Linked DNA regions of Homo sapiens: all the other regions are linked to region 1. The links are contacts of gene promoters, found by promoter capture Hi-C in blood cells and fetal thymus (Javierre and others, 2016). All regions are on one chromosome and are shown on one strand. The core of a region is centred on a gene start or on the middle of the fragment in contact, and the rest is flanking DNA. Distances in the headings are between cores, read along the strand shown.

What was found. The method cuts DNA at HindIII sites, captures the fragments that hold promoters and counts their contacts. A CHiCAGO score of 5 or more calls a contact.
Region 2: a fragment that was not itself captured here is called in contact with the fragment with the promoter of PARM1 in region 1 in 2 of 17 cell types (endothelial precursors and megakaryocytes); the score reaches 6.9 in endothelial precursors.
Region 3: a contact is called between the fragment with the promoter of ODAPH here and the fragment with the promoter of PARM1 in region 1, in 2 of 17 cell types (monocytes and M1 macrophages). The highest score is 5.2, in monocytes.
Region 4: a contact is called between a fragment that was not itself captured here and the fragment with the promoter of PARM1 in region 1, in 1 of 17 cell types (naive B cells). The highest score is 6.1, in naive B cells.
Region 5: a fragment that was not itself captured here is called in contact with the fragment with the promoter of PARM1 in region 1 in 1 of 17 cell types (M0 macrophages); the score reaches 5.2 in M0 macrophages.

Annotation. Positions count from the first base shown.
Region 1 is chr4:74,931,805-74,934,442 of GRCh38, reverse strand. PARM1 (prostate androgen-regulated mucin-like protein 1) reads right to left here and starts at 1,327. Exons shown (of 4, transcript NM_015393.4): 1 at 1,073-1,327. The coding sequence starts at 1,115. RefSeq lists an enhancer at 394-443 and silencers at 554-603, 1,184-1,493. The HindIII fragment of the contact is 7,366 bases long and covers 1-2,258 here.
Region 2 is chr4:75,577,702-75,580,339 of GRCh38, reverse strand. CDKL2 (cyclin dependent kinase like 2) reads left to right here. Exons shown (of 14, transcript NM_001330724.2): 14 at 1,162-2,638. Among named protein-coding and RNA genes, the nearest start is that of ODAPH, 23 kb to the right of the region's middle. The HindIII fragment of the contact is 1,699 bases long and covers 447-2,145 here.
Region 3 is chr4:75,554,756-75,557,393 of GRCh38, reverse strand. ODAPH (odontogenesis associated phosphoprotein) reads right to left here and starts at 1,328. Exons shown (of 2, transcript NM_178497.5): 1 at 1,245-1,328. The coding sequence starts at 1,311. RefSeq lists a silencer at 1,301-1,595. The HindIII fragment of the contact is 3,725 bases long and covers 1-1,492 here.
Region 4 is chr4:75,508,945-75,511,582 of GRCh38, reverse strand. It overlaps RCHY1 (ring finger and CHY zinc finger domain containing 1), which reads left to right. Exons shown (of 9, transcript NM_015436.4): 2 at 2,287-2,406. Among named protein-coding and RNA genes, the nearest start is that of RCHY1, 4.1 kb to the left of the region's middle. The HindIII fragment of the contact is 2,019 bases long and covers 288-2,306 here.
Region 5 is chr4:75,454,849-75,457,486 of GRCh38, reverse strand. LOC107986230 (a long non-coding RNA gene) reads left to right here and starts at 1,621. Exons shown (of 3, transcript XR_001741514.2): 1 at 1,621-1,796; 2 at 2,457-2,632. The HindIII fragment of the contact is 3,146 bases long and covers 1-2,638 here.

The DNA.
Region 1 (2,638 bases), core at 78-2,577:
TTGCGACGACTCGTGTCCACAACTGTAGGAACCCGACGAACTCAGAGGGAGGATATACAGACTAAAGCACGAGTAGAATCGGTTTGCGCTATGTGACTTTGGGTCACATTTAAACTGAAAATGCCAGTGGCCGCGCAGTCGGGCTACTTTTCCCAGCAGCACCATATCCACAGCCAGTTGTCCCTTTTCGGGAGACGTTTTCTGGAAAAAATAGGTACCTGAACTCTAGATTCAAAGCGTCTTTCTGAATCTCTCCCCGGTCCCCGCCAAGCCGAGCTCAGTCATCTGGCTCCCCTCTTCCCCATCCCCGCTGCCAGAGGTCGTCGCCGTCTGTGGTCCCGAAACCCGAGAGTGGCTCCTACGAAGCCTTTCAGAGGTGGTGCAGGGGGAGGGGAGAGGATGCTAGTTTAGCCAAGTTAATAGTTTCTTCTATGGGATACGTTTTTGGGGAGTTCTGGGGCAGAAGGTAGCCTTGCTACCCCCAGTGACGATTGCGAGCCTGACCAAGGCCGGGCCGCTGCTGTTAGTGCCACATCATCCTAAGCATAACTAGGAAGGGACGCCGGAGATCAGAGACCGCCAAGACTCGAGAAAGCAAACCAGCCCCGCCAGGCGCGCAGCCGCTGCTGAAGCCTTCCCAGATGCGAACCTCCCACCCCCACTTCCCCGGCTTTTTCATCCCTTCCAGGGCCCAACGGCAACAAGAAGTCTGGTCCCGTACTTTGGCAGAGTGCGCTCCGAAACCCTGGTGAAGAAAGAGAAGCCTTGAGGCGCAGTCCGTGTTGCCCACTCTGGGTTCGAACACGCAGCTAAGACAGCCACCTGTTCTACAAAGCTGGAGTTTGTGCGGGCGCGGGCTGCGGCAGGAAGGACCCCATCGTCCCCTCCCTCAGTACGGTTCGGGACCGCCAAAGGTGCACGTCACCCCAAATCTAAGTGCGCACACACCTGCGCACTCACCCGGAGGCGCGCGGCGACTCACTGCCGGATCTCCTAGCTTCAGCCCCGACCACGCGCTAGCTACTGGGGCCCACCCCGCGACCTGCCCTTCCGGGAGGATGGCGCCAATTACCTGCAGTTAAGATGCAAAGAGCGAAGAGAGTCTTGTAGACCATGGTAGCCTGGTATTTGGTGCCCAGCCCGGGGCGGGCGGCAAGGAGTTTGCGGACTGACAGAGCGCACTGGGCGCTGGTAGCGACTCCTCTGCCGGGTGGGCTGCGGTGGGAGCCGGGAGGCGCGAACAGCTCCAGTGGAGGGCGCGAGGCAAACGAGGCGAACGCAGCGCAGCTCCGTCAGCTGCGTGCCCTCCGGTGCTCCGCGCTCTTCTGCTCCATCCCAGCCGCCCGAGCCCGGGGCCGCCTCCGCCTCCGCCGCCGCCGCCGCGCCTGCCGCTGCCAAACCCCTCCCACCCGGGCCCCGCGGCGATGACTGGGCCACCCCCTGGCCTTCCTTCTCTCAGCCCTCAGGTCCCGAGAGCCCCGGCCCAGAGCGGCCTCTGCTGGACAGTCAAGACACGAGACCCTGGGTTCAGCAAATGTTTGCAGCGCCTTGCACTGTGCTGGGAACTAGGGATGCAAAGAAATGTGAGCACATCTCTGCCCTTAGGAATCTAGCTCAGCTTTTCCTACATGAGCTTACAGCCTTTAAAAAGGTGACCTTATGCCATTTTAGGAGTTCCCTCGGAGAACCGGCACATGTTCCAAGAATGAGGACCTTCTTCATTTGTCAAAACACTTCTGCGTGTACATCATTAAACCCTCATCCACATTAAACCCGGCTGAGCTTCCTGGGGCCCGAACCAGGATGTCTGCCGCTGCATTCAGCTTCTTACTAGAAGAAAATACTGTCGGGGGGATAACTAAGCCAGACACCCTACTAGGCGTTGTTTCATGAATCCTTCTAAGAATTATTATTATTCCATTTTACAGGTGAGAAAATGAAGGCACAGAGAAGACAATGTTCTCAAGGTCGCATAACTGGTAAGAATAGTTTGTGCACTAGGCCCATAATAAAGGCTGACGTTTCCTGAGTGATTGCTATGTGCTAGGCACTGGACAACGTGCTGTTCAGGAATCAACCAAGTCATTTAGTTCTCACAACAATCCTTGGAGATTATATCCTCGTTTTCAGGGGAGAAAGTAGAAGCACAGAGAAGTTTAACTTGCCCGAGTTCACACAACTCGCAAGTAATGATAAGATGCCTGCCCAGGCACCCCGCTCAGCCTCTGTACTCTACTCCCTCTCAAGAGCCCAAAGCTTCTCCAAAGCCTACAGATTAGAACTGACCTTTCATTCAGTTCCCTCCCTGCTCTTGCTACACTTTAGGCTTGCTTAATTCTCACACTTCGATCAAAGCAGATGCCAGGTTCTCTCCCAATTCTGTTATTAATGAACCTATTGGTCCCCTAGTCACTAGAGCTGGGGCACTGCAGGAGTTAACAAGCCTTTGTAAAGAAATGATTTGCGTGGAAGGCAGCTTTCTTTTTTCTGTAATATCTTCTTCATATGCCATGGGCTCTGTTCTCACTTCTTTCTCACATACCAGAAGCTGACTCTAGGAGTCCTGAGCACCTTATCTATGGTCAATTCCTCTGCCTGACTCTATCACACTACCACTTGTAGATTTTGCTCACACTTC
Region 2 (2,638 bases), core at 47-2,546, 650 kb before region 1:
TTCAATGTTTAATATCTCATTATGTAAAATATTATGATGATAAATTCCCACATTCTCACAACTGTATTTATTTATTTTTTTGAGACGGTGTCTTGCTCTGTCTCCCAGGCTGGAGTGCAGTGGCACAATCTCAGCTTACTGCAACCTCCAAGTGATCCTCATGCCTCAGCCTCCTGAGTAGCTGGGATCACAGGTGTGTGCCACCACGCCCAGCTAATTTTTGTATATTTAGTAGAGATGGGGTTTCACTATGTTGGCTAGGCTGGTCTTGAACTCCTGACCTCAGGTGATCTGCCCACCTTGGCCTCACAAAGTGCTGGGATTACAGTCATGAGTCACCATGCCCAGCCCCTAACTGTATTATTGGAATTAATCTGTTAACCTTTACAAAGCATTTTGAGCATCTGTGACATCAAAGGTGAATGTACTGTGAAGTGAACAAAGCTTAAGTTTTGATCTTTCATTTGCACAGGTCCTTTCAAGGCCGTGGGAGAGTCTTTGCAATGCATTCATTTGAGTTAATTCATGTTGAGCAATGAACAACTAATTCATACAAACCGTGTAAACTACAGGGTCTGCAAAACTTGGATGCATTTTGTCAAAATTAGTCATTATTTGCATAAAAGGAGATGTGTGTTACACATGATAGTTTTTCTTTTTTTTGAGACGGAGTTTCGCTCTTGTTGCCCAGGCTGGAGTGCAATGGCGTGATCTCTGCTCACTGCAACCTCCACCTCCCGGGTTCAAGTGATTCTCCTGCCTCAGCCTCCTGAGTAGCTGGGATTACAAGCATGGGCCACCATGCCGGGCTAATTTTTTTGTATTTTTAGTAGAGATGGGGTTTCTCCATGTTGGTCAGGCTGGTCTTGAACTCCCAACCTCAGGTGATCTGCCCGCCTCGGCCTCCCAAAGTGTTGGGATTACAGGCGTGAGCCACTGCACCCAGCCATACGCAAGATAGTTTTGATTGGTAATTATTCTAAAGATTGTCTTAAAAATTTGCTTTTGATACATCTAATTGAAATCTAAGGTTTTCTTAAACTACATAGTACCCACCAATGTTATCAATATATACGATGTGAGAAAGCAAGTGAGATAGAAATTAATTTTTAGAAAGATTTTTTGTAAAATAGTTGGTGGTATATCCTCCTGTGCTTTTAGATGATGCTCTTGCACTTGAGATGACATCTTCTTGCAGCAAGAGTGCTGATATCCCAAGAGGAGAGATTCATGGTTTTGATCATTTCCTTCTGAACTGCCTGCATTTTCTGAGGAAGGCCTTCTAGAAGAAGGAAAGACAAAGACTTCCAAATGTTTCAAAGGAAGATTGAACAAATGGCCCTCCCCAACTGTTATCCCATTACCTTTCACGTCCACCGATGCTATTTCAAGACATATCCAGTGGAATAACAGTGATATGGTTCTTGTTACATGAATGTGTATTTACTGTTAGGAGATTGTATATTTTAAGTTACCATGATTAAAAGTGTGTAAAAAAGGGGGACAGAGAGAAATACTATAAAAGGCCATGTTACTCATGCATTGAACTTTGTGTGTTTTCTGTATAAATGTGTACATTTATTTAGGAGTGGGTTTCTTGGGGGTAGGTGATAAAAATTAGGATCAGTTGAAGAAAATTGAAGAAACTAGGATCAGTAAGAGAAACTGTTTGCTTTACCTGAATTTAACTATGAAAACACACTTAACAATCTTACACGTTTCTAGATATTAAGTGAATATGTAACTCCTGTCCATGGGTAGATGTGTATCTTTGACTTCTGTAATTATTTTTGATATTCTATCAGTGTATTATGAGACTCTGGCCTCCCTGCAGATCTTCTAAGAACCACACTAATGCAAGCGTGACAGAGAAACCTCTTTCGAATGACTTACTACAACTCTGGCATTGGTTAGTTCCATGTATTGTAAGATTCTGGTGCTAATGCTCCATACAGAATTGATCAGGACTGATTACTCTTCTGTGGACCAATTGCTATTGAACTACCCAGCTGAAGAGGGTTTGGGGAGAGAACGTTCATTATTATGGACTCCACTTTTGTCCCCTGGTAGTTTAAGGGTGATACTAGAATCCAGAGAAGTTCCTGTCTCCTTGTGGCCTCAAACACTCAGGCCGTCTCAAAAGCTTTTCACCAAGGTGCAAAATCATTTACCTGCATTCCACACATCTTTTCCAATGCATGGATCCAAAACTTTTTAGGTGGGAGGAATAAACTAAGTTGGCTACAGGTTCTTGATTTCTGGGTTTCTACACATGCTCTGCATTTATCATTTTAGAGAATGGTTGTTTAGGGAACCAGAATTTGTGAGTTTTTTTTTTTTTTTTGCCTTAACTAATTAATAGTGTGTTGCTTTTTTTCCAAAGCCATTGACTAGAACTTAGCTGAAGAATTTAACTAGAACTTTTCTTTATTACTCTGAGGAGCTTAATACTGAAATTCTGACCTTGGATATTTAAGCCTCAAAAGAGTAGGACATTCAAGAGGAGGCAAATAAGGGGTTTCAATGTACAAGTCTATAGGTGGTGGTTAAATTAAAATTGGTCTTGATTTAAAAGCTCTACTTTTAATCTGTGACCAGCTGTTTGACAACATTAGTATGGATAACATGCTGAAAAAAC
Region 3 (2,638 bases), core at 79-2,578, 620 kb before region 1:
TGCTGGGATTACAGGTGTGAGCCACTGTACCCAGCCTCAGTGGGTGTTTTTAAGATGTGAATAAAATAAATCTCTAATCTCATTATAACTTGTTTAGCTATGTGTTTACAAAGCCTCCTGAAGAGCGGTTCACTTTTTGCAGAGAAAGTGGCAGGTGGCTAGTTTTGTTTTATGATGCTTCTTTTAGATGTCACTTTTAGTAGGTGAGGCTTGGGGGCCTTGCCTTGGGATATGGGGGCAGGTTTTGTTCATAATCTATGCCCTGTCCCCTGATTGCCAGAGTGTGTGCAGAGGTTGGATCAGGGGGTTTCTGAGTGTTCCACAACCAGCTCTTATGTCTCTCCCCTCCTCCTGTCTATTGTGAGCTCTGAGGGATGGGAACGGGGAATCTGTCTGGGGATGAGCAGGGTTTGGCTGAGCCCCTGCAAAGCCCCCTACCCAAGACATGTGAAAGGGGTGAAGTGCTCTGTTTGACTCCTAGGTCCATCTTCCGTAAACAGCATCTAGTTTTGGAATTAAAATAAACTGAAGAAAAGGTTAGATCTAGGCTCCCCAAGATTTCCTCCCCTTGTATTTCCCTCTTTTCATCCCTTCCCCAGCCTTTTCTTTCCTTTTCCTAGGGGTTTGCAAACCAATTGTAAGGCTCAGGACACATTTTGTAGTGGGAACAAAGAAAGAGAATAGGAACAGTTGAGAAATGGAATCTAATAAAATCCTAAAGAAAGAAACCTGTGCCCACCTCTGTGGCACCAAAATGCAGCTCAATAGATGTGATTAATTAAAGCAATGAACAAAGACTAAATACCCACCATGTGCAAATTAATATGCTGCTGGAGATAGAAAGTGGACAGTGCTGTAATTCAAAGTGGAATTGTTAGCTTTGTAACCATAATAACTAGTATTTGTACAGTGTTTTTAGCTTGAAGAGTTTTTCACAGATGATAGCTCATTTGGTCCTTGCAAACCCCATAACGATGGATATTGTTAATGTTGTCACTTCACATATGAGGAATCTGATACTCAGAGATTTTAAGTGTGTCTAAAGTCACAGAGCTATTGCTGAGACGAGGACCAAGGTCTTCAGGTGACAAAATCCAACTTCCTTCTCTTTAACCACACAGGCTGATGGAAGCTGAGGTAAATATTTCCAATTTATGGGAACGTATAATCATGGAGCCAGTTTTGTCTTTTCCTACAACTTATTAATTAGTGGACCCACAGTAGAATAAAAGCAAAACCCTTACCTTCTGCCACAGTTACCACCAACCAGCATACCAGTAACCAGTAGGAGAAGCAGTGTCTGCGAGCCATGGCTTCTACTGAGCAGTCACTGCGTTGAACCTGATGTTGCTTTAAAGGGGAGCTGGTGAGTCACCAGCAGCCTGATTCAGGTAATTTGCATTTGCACAGTGGACCACAGAGATCAGGGCTTGCGGTGTGAGGGTAAGAAATCAGCAAGGAAATACCAGACAGTATTTGTCAACCAGAAGCTTCTTGGAATGACAGCCAGATATCAATCATCTCCCCCCAGAGGGGGATTTTGGACAACCGCACCTTCACCATCCTTCTAATCTCTCAAATCTTCTCCCATGTTAGTGCCTTTTAGTTGTGTATATCAGTCTTCCTCTGCAAGAGAAATAAGCTGTCCAGAAATATGCAACAGTGCTTCTCTCTGTGCAGCTTACCTACTTAAAAAGCGAAACAAGAGGGAGAGGGCATTACCCGGAGGCTTCCTGACCCCGGTGGTTTGCAGTGGAGAGTTGGGGATCATTCTTAGGCCCCCAACCAGGGTTTATGCTGCTTCTCTGCTCTGCTTTTGTCCAGGAGGTGAGGGCAGCAGAATCAGAAAGTGATCTTCCCTAGTGGTCATGATGGTCACTGTCTAAACAAACATAAACATTGGGAGAGTAACTTAGTGAGTCGTCCTTTCACGGCTCCTCCTGATTCACCATATTGCATATAAAATGGACATGACATGTCTATGTCCAGTTGGTTTCCTGAGAGAAAGACTTCATCAGCTGCTGGATATATGAGAGGGGATTGTCACAGGTGATTAAGAACATGGACCTTGGAGTCAGGTAAAATTCCAGTCTTTGTTCCTTTTCTTACTAGCTGAGTGACTGTGGTGAGTCCCTGAGACTTGCTGAAGCCTCAGGGGCCTCACCTGTAAAATGGGACTTGTGGTACTACCCTCAGAGGAATTTGTGAATTAAGGAGATGCTTTTAAAAAAAATTTTTTTTAAATTTCAATCTTTTGGGGTACGAGTGGTTTTGGGTTACATGGATGGACTCTATGGTGGCGAACTCTGAGATTTTAGTGCACTCGTCACCCGAGCAGTGTACACTGCACCCAATATGTAGTCTTTTATCCCTCACCTCCTTCCCAACCTCCCCCACCCCTAGCCTCTAAAGTCCATTATATCATTCTGTATGTCTTTGTGTCCTCATAGCTCAGCTCCCACGTATAAGTGAGAACATACGATATTTGGTTTTCCATTCCTGAGTTACTTAACTTGGAATAATGGCCTCCAGCTCCATCCAAGTTGCTGCAAAAGACATTATTTCATTTTTTTATGGCTGAGTAGTATTCCATGGTGTATTTCTACCACATTTTCTTTATCCACTCGTTGGTCGATGG
Region 4 (2,638 bases), core at 48-2,547, 580 kb before region 1:
AACACTTCTGCAAACTGAAATTAGAGGGTTGTCTTGAGGAAAAGCTCTTGTGCAAATTGGATTGTAAAGTGAACTAGTTGCTTTTTTTCATGGAACAGCATTTTTTACTTGAAAAAATTGTAGTCATTCACATTTGGGTAGTTGGCAGACATTTTCTCAAAAAGGAGAAAAGTGAGACTCACTACAAATGAAAATGACAGTATTTGTTGCCAGTGATAAAATTCAAGCTTTCACACAAAAATTAGAATTTTGGAAAACTTTTACTAGCTTTTGTGAGGTTGGAAGCTTTTTAAAAGACTTTTTTTGGTGAGATTTTCTTCAATACCTAAAGACTTTTAATGAATATGATTTTTTGATATTGCATGTTAAATGTGTGAACATTTAGAAGATGTAAATAACTCACTGAACTGGTATTCTCCAGATGACCAATGCATGAGTAAAACATCCATTTGAAGTGCAAGATAGAGCAATAGATTTTAATGTAACCAAGGAAGAAAAGAGGCATCATATCAATCATATTCCTTGATACGATTTCAGATTTCATGTTGCAACTACCCTTTAAGAGTTGTTGTTCTAGTGTAATATCAGAGAATGATATCCATAATTCTCCAAAAAGGCTATTAAAATACTCCTTTCTTTTCCAGTGTACATATTTGTGTGAGGCCAGAGTTTCTTTTTGTACTTCAGCCACAACTGTTTGAATGCATAAGCAGATAGAAGAATTCAGCTGTTTGGGGGGAAAAATATAGTTATTTTTCATTAAAACATGTTATTTATGTTAACAAGTAATGAGTTTGTTACTTTTAAAAAGAAGTAATATTTTAAAAACCTATTCTTTTTAATTTATGATGTGGTATATGTCAATAGATAAAATCCACATAAACCAAAGCTCTTTGGGATTCTCAGTAATTTTAAAAAGTGTGAAGGGATCCTGAGACCAAACCATTTGAGAACTACTGTTCTGCGGTATAACTATGAGAATAGTGGGTTGGAGGACAAGGTTATTGGAAATGACAAAGTTAAGGAACTGAGAGTTGCAGAAAAAGGAAGCCAGTTAAGTGTTAAAATCTTTAAGGAATGAACTACGTTATGGTAAGTCAAGGCATAGGAAGCCTTCAGAAATGAGTGGATCTGCAAGGTCACAGTGTATTGGAAAGTCACTGGCCTGGAAATCTCTTGATATACTTGTAATGGTAAAGTTGCTGTAATGAAAAAACCCAACAGTGATGTAGATTAAAGAGTAAAGGTTTTATTTCTTTCCATTTAACAATTCCAAGGCGAGTGATGCAGGTTGGTGATGAGGCTTTGCTCCACATGGTCACTCCAGGGATGAGATTTTTCTGTTGTATCATTTTGTCATGTTTTAGGGCATGTGGCCATCTGTCTGATATAGCTGAACAATTGTGCCCAGGAAGGAGAGGATAGATTTTGGTGGACAACTGGCAGTCTTTGCCGTGTTTGAAAACAAGGGCTGTCTCTTACATTTGTTGCATTTTGTGCAATATTAGATATGAGGTTGATGATTAATAAAAGCTAGTAAAATAAGAATATAATCTTTATTATTTTTAATGTAAATGAATTTATCTGGAAATGTCTAAGAAGAGGTTGCCTGTTTGCTGTTTAGGCTCAGAATGAAATTGGGGTGTTATATTAGTCTGTTTTCACACTGCTGATAAAGACATACCCAAGACTGGGAAGAAAAAGAGGTTTAATTGGACTTACAGTTCCACATGGCTAGGGAGGCCTGAGAATCATGGCGGGAGACAAAAGGCACTTCTTACATGGTGGTGGCAATAGAAAATGAGGAAGAAGCAAAAGTGGAAACTCCTGATAAACCCATCAGATCTCATGAGATTTTATTCATTATCACGAGAATGGCACGGGAGAGTCTGGCCCCCATGATTCAGTTACCTCCTTCTAAGTCCCTCCCACAACACGTGGGAATTCTGGGAGATACATTTCAAGTTGAGATTTGGGTGGGAACACAGCCAAAGCATATCAGGTGTTGTGGGATTAGTGTTTCAATCTAGGGATTTCCTTCATAATTCTTTTGTTTTAAAGTTGTGTTCAACTTCATACAGACGTAGTGATGTTGAAGGGAAGAATTAACATAAAATATGCCAAGAAACTAGTGAAATGTTATGTTTAGGATCAGTTTAGCAACTGATCTATTGGTTGTAATCTTTCAGTTCCATCCAGGAGGAGGAGGAAGAAATTTTCTTTTTGTATTGCACACTTAGTTTCTTTTGCTTCTTACTATATCTCTTTTTTCTCCGTGGGTGTTAGGCACCTTGCTGTGACAAGCTTTATACTTGCCGCTTGTGTCATGATAACAATGAAGATCATCAACTAGATCGCTTTAAAGTGAAGGAAGTGCAGTGCATAAACTGTGAAAAAATTCAACATGTAAGATTTTATGACATTTCTATTTTCTTTTTAAAAGCTGTATTAAGGTGGTTTGAAAAAATTTAATCAAAAGTATCATAAATAAGATTTCTTTAACTTCTAGAATAAGCAATATCTTTGGTTTAGGTGTTTCAAAACTTATAAAAATAAACTGCATATAGTTGAACATAAGTTCTAGATATTCAAATGGTAACTCAAAATGTTTAGTTTATTGCAGTTTTTAATTATGTTT
Region 5 (2,638 bases), core at 79-2,578, 520 kb before region 1:
TGTTTGAAACATTGCTGATTCTTTTTATATACTGTTTTCCAGAGTCAAGAAAACTTTATGGCTGGGTGTGGTGGCTAACGCCTGTAATCCATGCACTTTGGGAGGCCGAGGTGGGTGGATTGCTTAAGCTCAGTAGTTGGAGACCAGCCTGGGCAACATGGCAAAAACCTGTCACTACAGAAAATACAAAAATCAGCTGGGCGGGGTGGCATGCGCCTATAATCCCAGCTACTCAGAAGGCTAAGGCAGGAGAATTGCTTGAGCCCAGGAGGTGGAGGTTGCAGTAAGCCAAGATTACACCATTGCTCTCCAGACTGGGCAACAGGAGTAAAACCTCGTCTCAACACAAAACAAAACAAACAAACAAAAAACAAACAATGACAACAAAAGAAAATTTTACCTACAGTAAAAAAAGAGAAGTTGCTTACAGCCATTGGGTAAATTATACTTTTATGAGCAAAATGGAAACATTTACCTTTCTCTGTACCGAATTTCTCCAAAATTTCTAAACTATTCAAGAATATTATTATTTTTACAACAATATATTTATTTGCATTACTTCAGTAAGAATGTACAAAAGCCAAAATTGACAAATGGGATCTAATTAAACTAAAGAGCTTCTGCATAGCAAAAGAAACTACGATCAGAGTGAACAGGCAATCTACAAAATGGGAGAAAATTTTCATAACCTACTCATCTGACAAAGGGCTAATATCCAGAATCTACAATGAACTCAAACAAATTTACAAGAAAAAAACAAACAACCCCATCAAAAAGTGGGCAAAGGATATGAACAGACACTTCTCAAAAGAAGACATTTATGCAGCCAAAAGACACATGAAAAAATGCTCATCATCACTGGCCATCAGAGAAATGCAAATCAAAACCACAGTGAGATACCATCTCACACCAGTTAGAATGGCAATCATTAAAAAGTCAGGAAACAACAGGTGCTGGAGAGGATGTGGAGAAATAGGAACACTTTGACACTGTTGGTGGGACTGTAAACTAGTTCAACCATTGTGGAAGTCAGTGAGGCGATTCCTCAGGGATCTAGAACTAGAAATACCATTTGACCCAGCCATCCCATTACTGGGTATATACCCAAAGGACTATAAATCATGCTGCTAAAAAGACACATGCACACGTATGTTTATTGCGGCACTATTCACAATAGCAAAAACTTGGAACCAATCCAAATGTCCATCAATGATAGACTGGATTAAGAAAATGTGGCACATATACACCATGGAATACTATGCAGCCATAAAAATGATGAGTTCATGTTCTTTGTAGGGACATGGATGAAATTAGAAATCATCATTCTCAGTAAACTATCGCAAGGATAAAAAACCAAACACCGCATGTTCTCACTCATAGATGGGAATTGAACAAGGAGAACACATGGACACAGGAAGGGGAACATCACACTCTGGGGACTGTTGTGGGGTAGGGGGAGAGGGGAGGGATAGCATTAGGAGATACACCTAATCCTAAATGACGAGTTAATGGGGGCAGCACACCAGCATGGCACATGTATACATATGTAACTAACCTGCACATTGTGCACATGTACCCTAAAACTTAAAGTATAATAATAATTAAAAAAAGAATGTTTTCTTTTATAATAGGACACACTGGAAACATTGGTAATTTTCAGATATGACCAAACAGTTTTGAGGAATTGAGGTTGACTTTACAGAGCCAATACGAACCCCCTTGGAAAACTGGCCCGGTACCTTGTCTATATGCTTCACTTACAAGATTCCTGACCTTACAAGATTCCTGACCTTGTGGTAAGTAAAGAGTGTTAACTTTCTGACAGGCCCAGGAACCTCAAGATATTTTGAGACCTTGAGAAGAAAGGAATTCATCCAATTTATACAGGCATTACAGGATGGCAAATCCTTGGCTTGGCTTCTAAACATCTAGAGGCTTTTAAAAGTTTAATCTCAAAATCCTTATGAAAAAGTTCCAGCAAAGGCAAATTTAAAGGAGCCTATATGGCCAATTGCTATTCTTGCACTTTATGCAAATTATCAGGTCAAGTATAATAAGTCTAAAATTTATTTTGCAAATAAATTGGTCTTACTATTTCTTTTTGGTAGAAAAGGGGGACTGAAGAGAGGAAAATTATGTTTCAGAACAAAACCATATCTAATAAGCACACCTGCTTATTAGATTTTAACCCTGACCATTGTTTTTAAGTTTTTATTATTTATCTACAATTTGGGTTAAATCTTGGATTATTTCCTGGCTACAATAAATCTCTAAAGAAGAACCCGGTTTTAATTTTCTTCATGATGTTTTTAGTTGGCTCCCTAATGGAATAAGGTTTTCTTTCTTTCTATTCTGACATAGAATTTCTCTCTTTGATTGTAATCCTTGTGTGCATTTTATTTCTGCTATTCACATTACTAATGTTATGTATCTCTCATTGTTTTTCTTCTTCCAAGGAAACCAGAACCATGGTATTCCAAAGACTAGAGATGATTCAACAAAGCATGTGAATCTCCTTCATTTGGAGTCCTGCTGAGCCTGCTCTGTTTTCCATTGCCAATGCACCACTATTAAAGCTATATAACATTAAGCACCCTCCCTCTTGGTGCAGGGACTATTGTGAAAGACGCAGGTATGT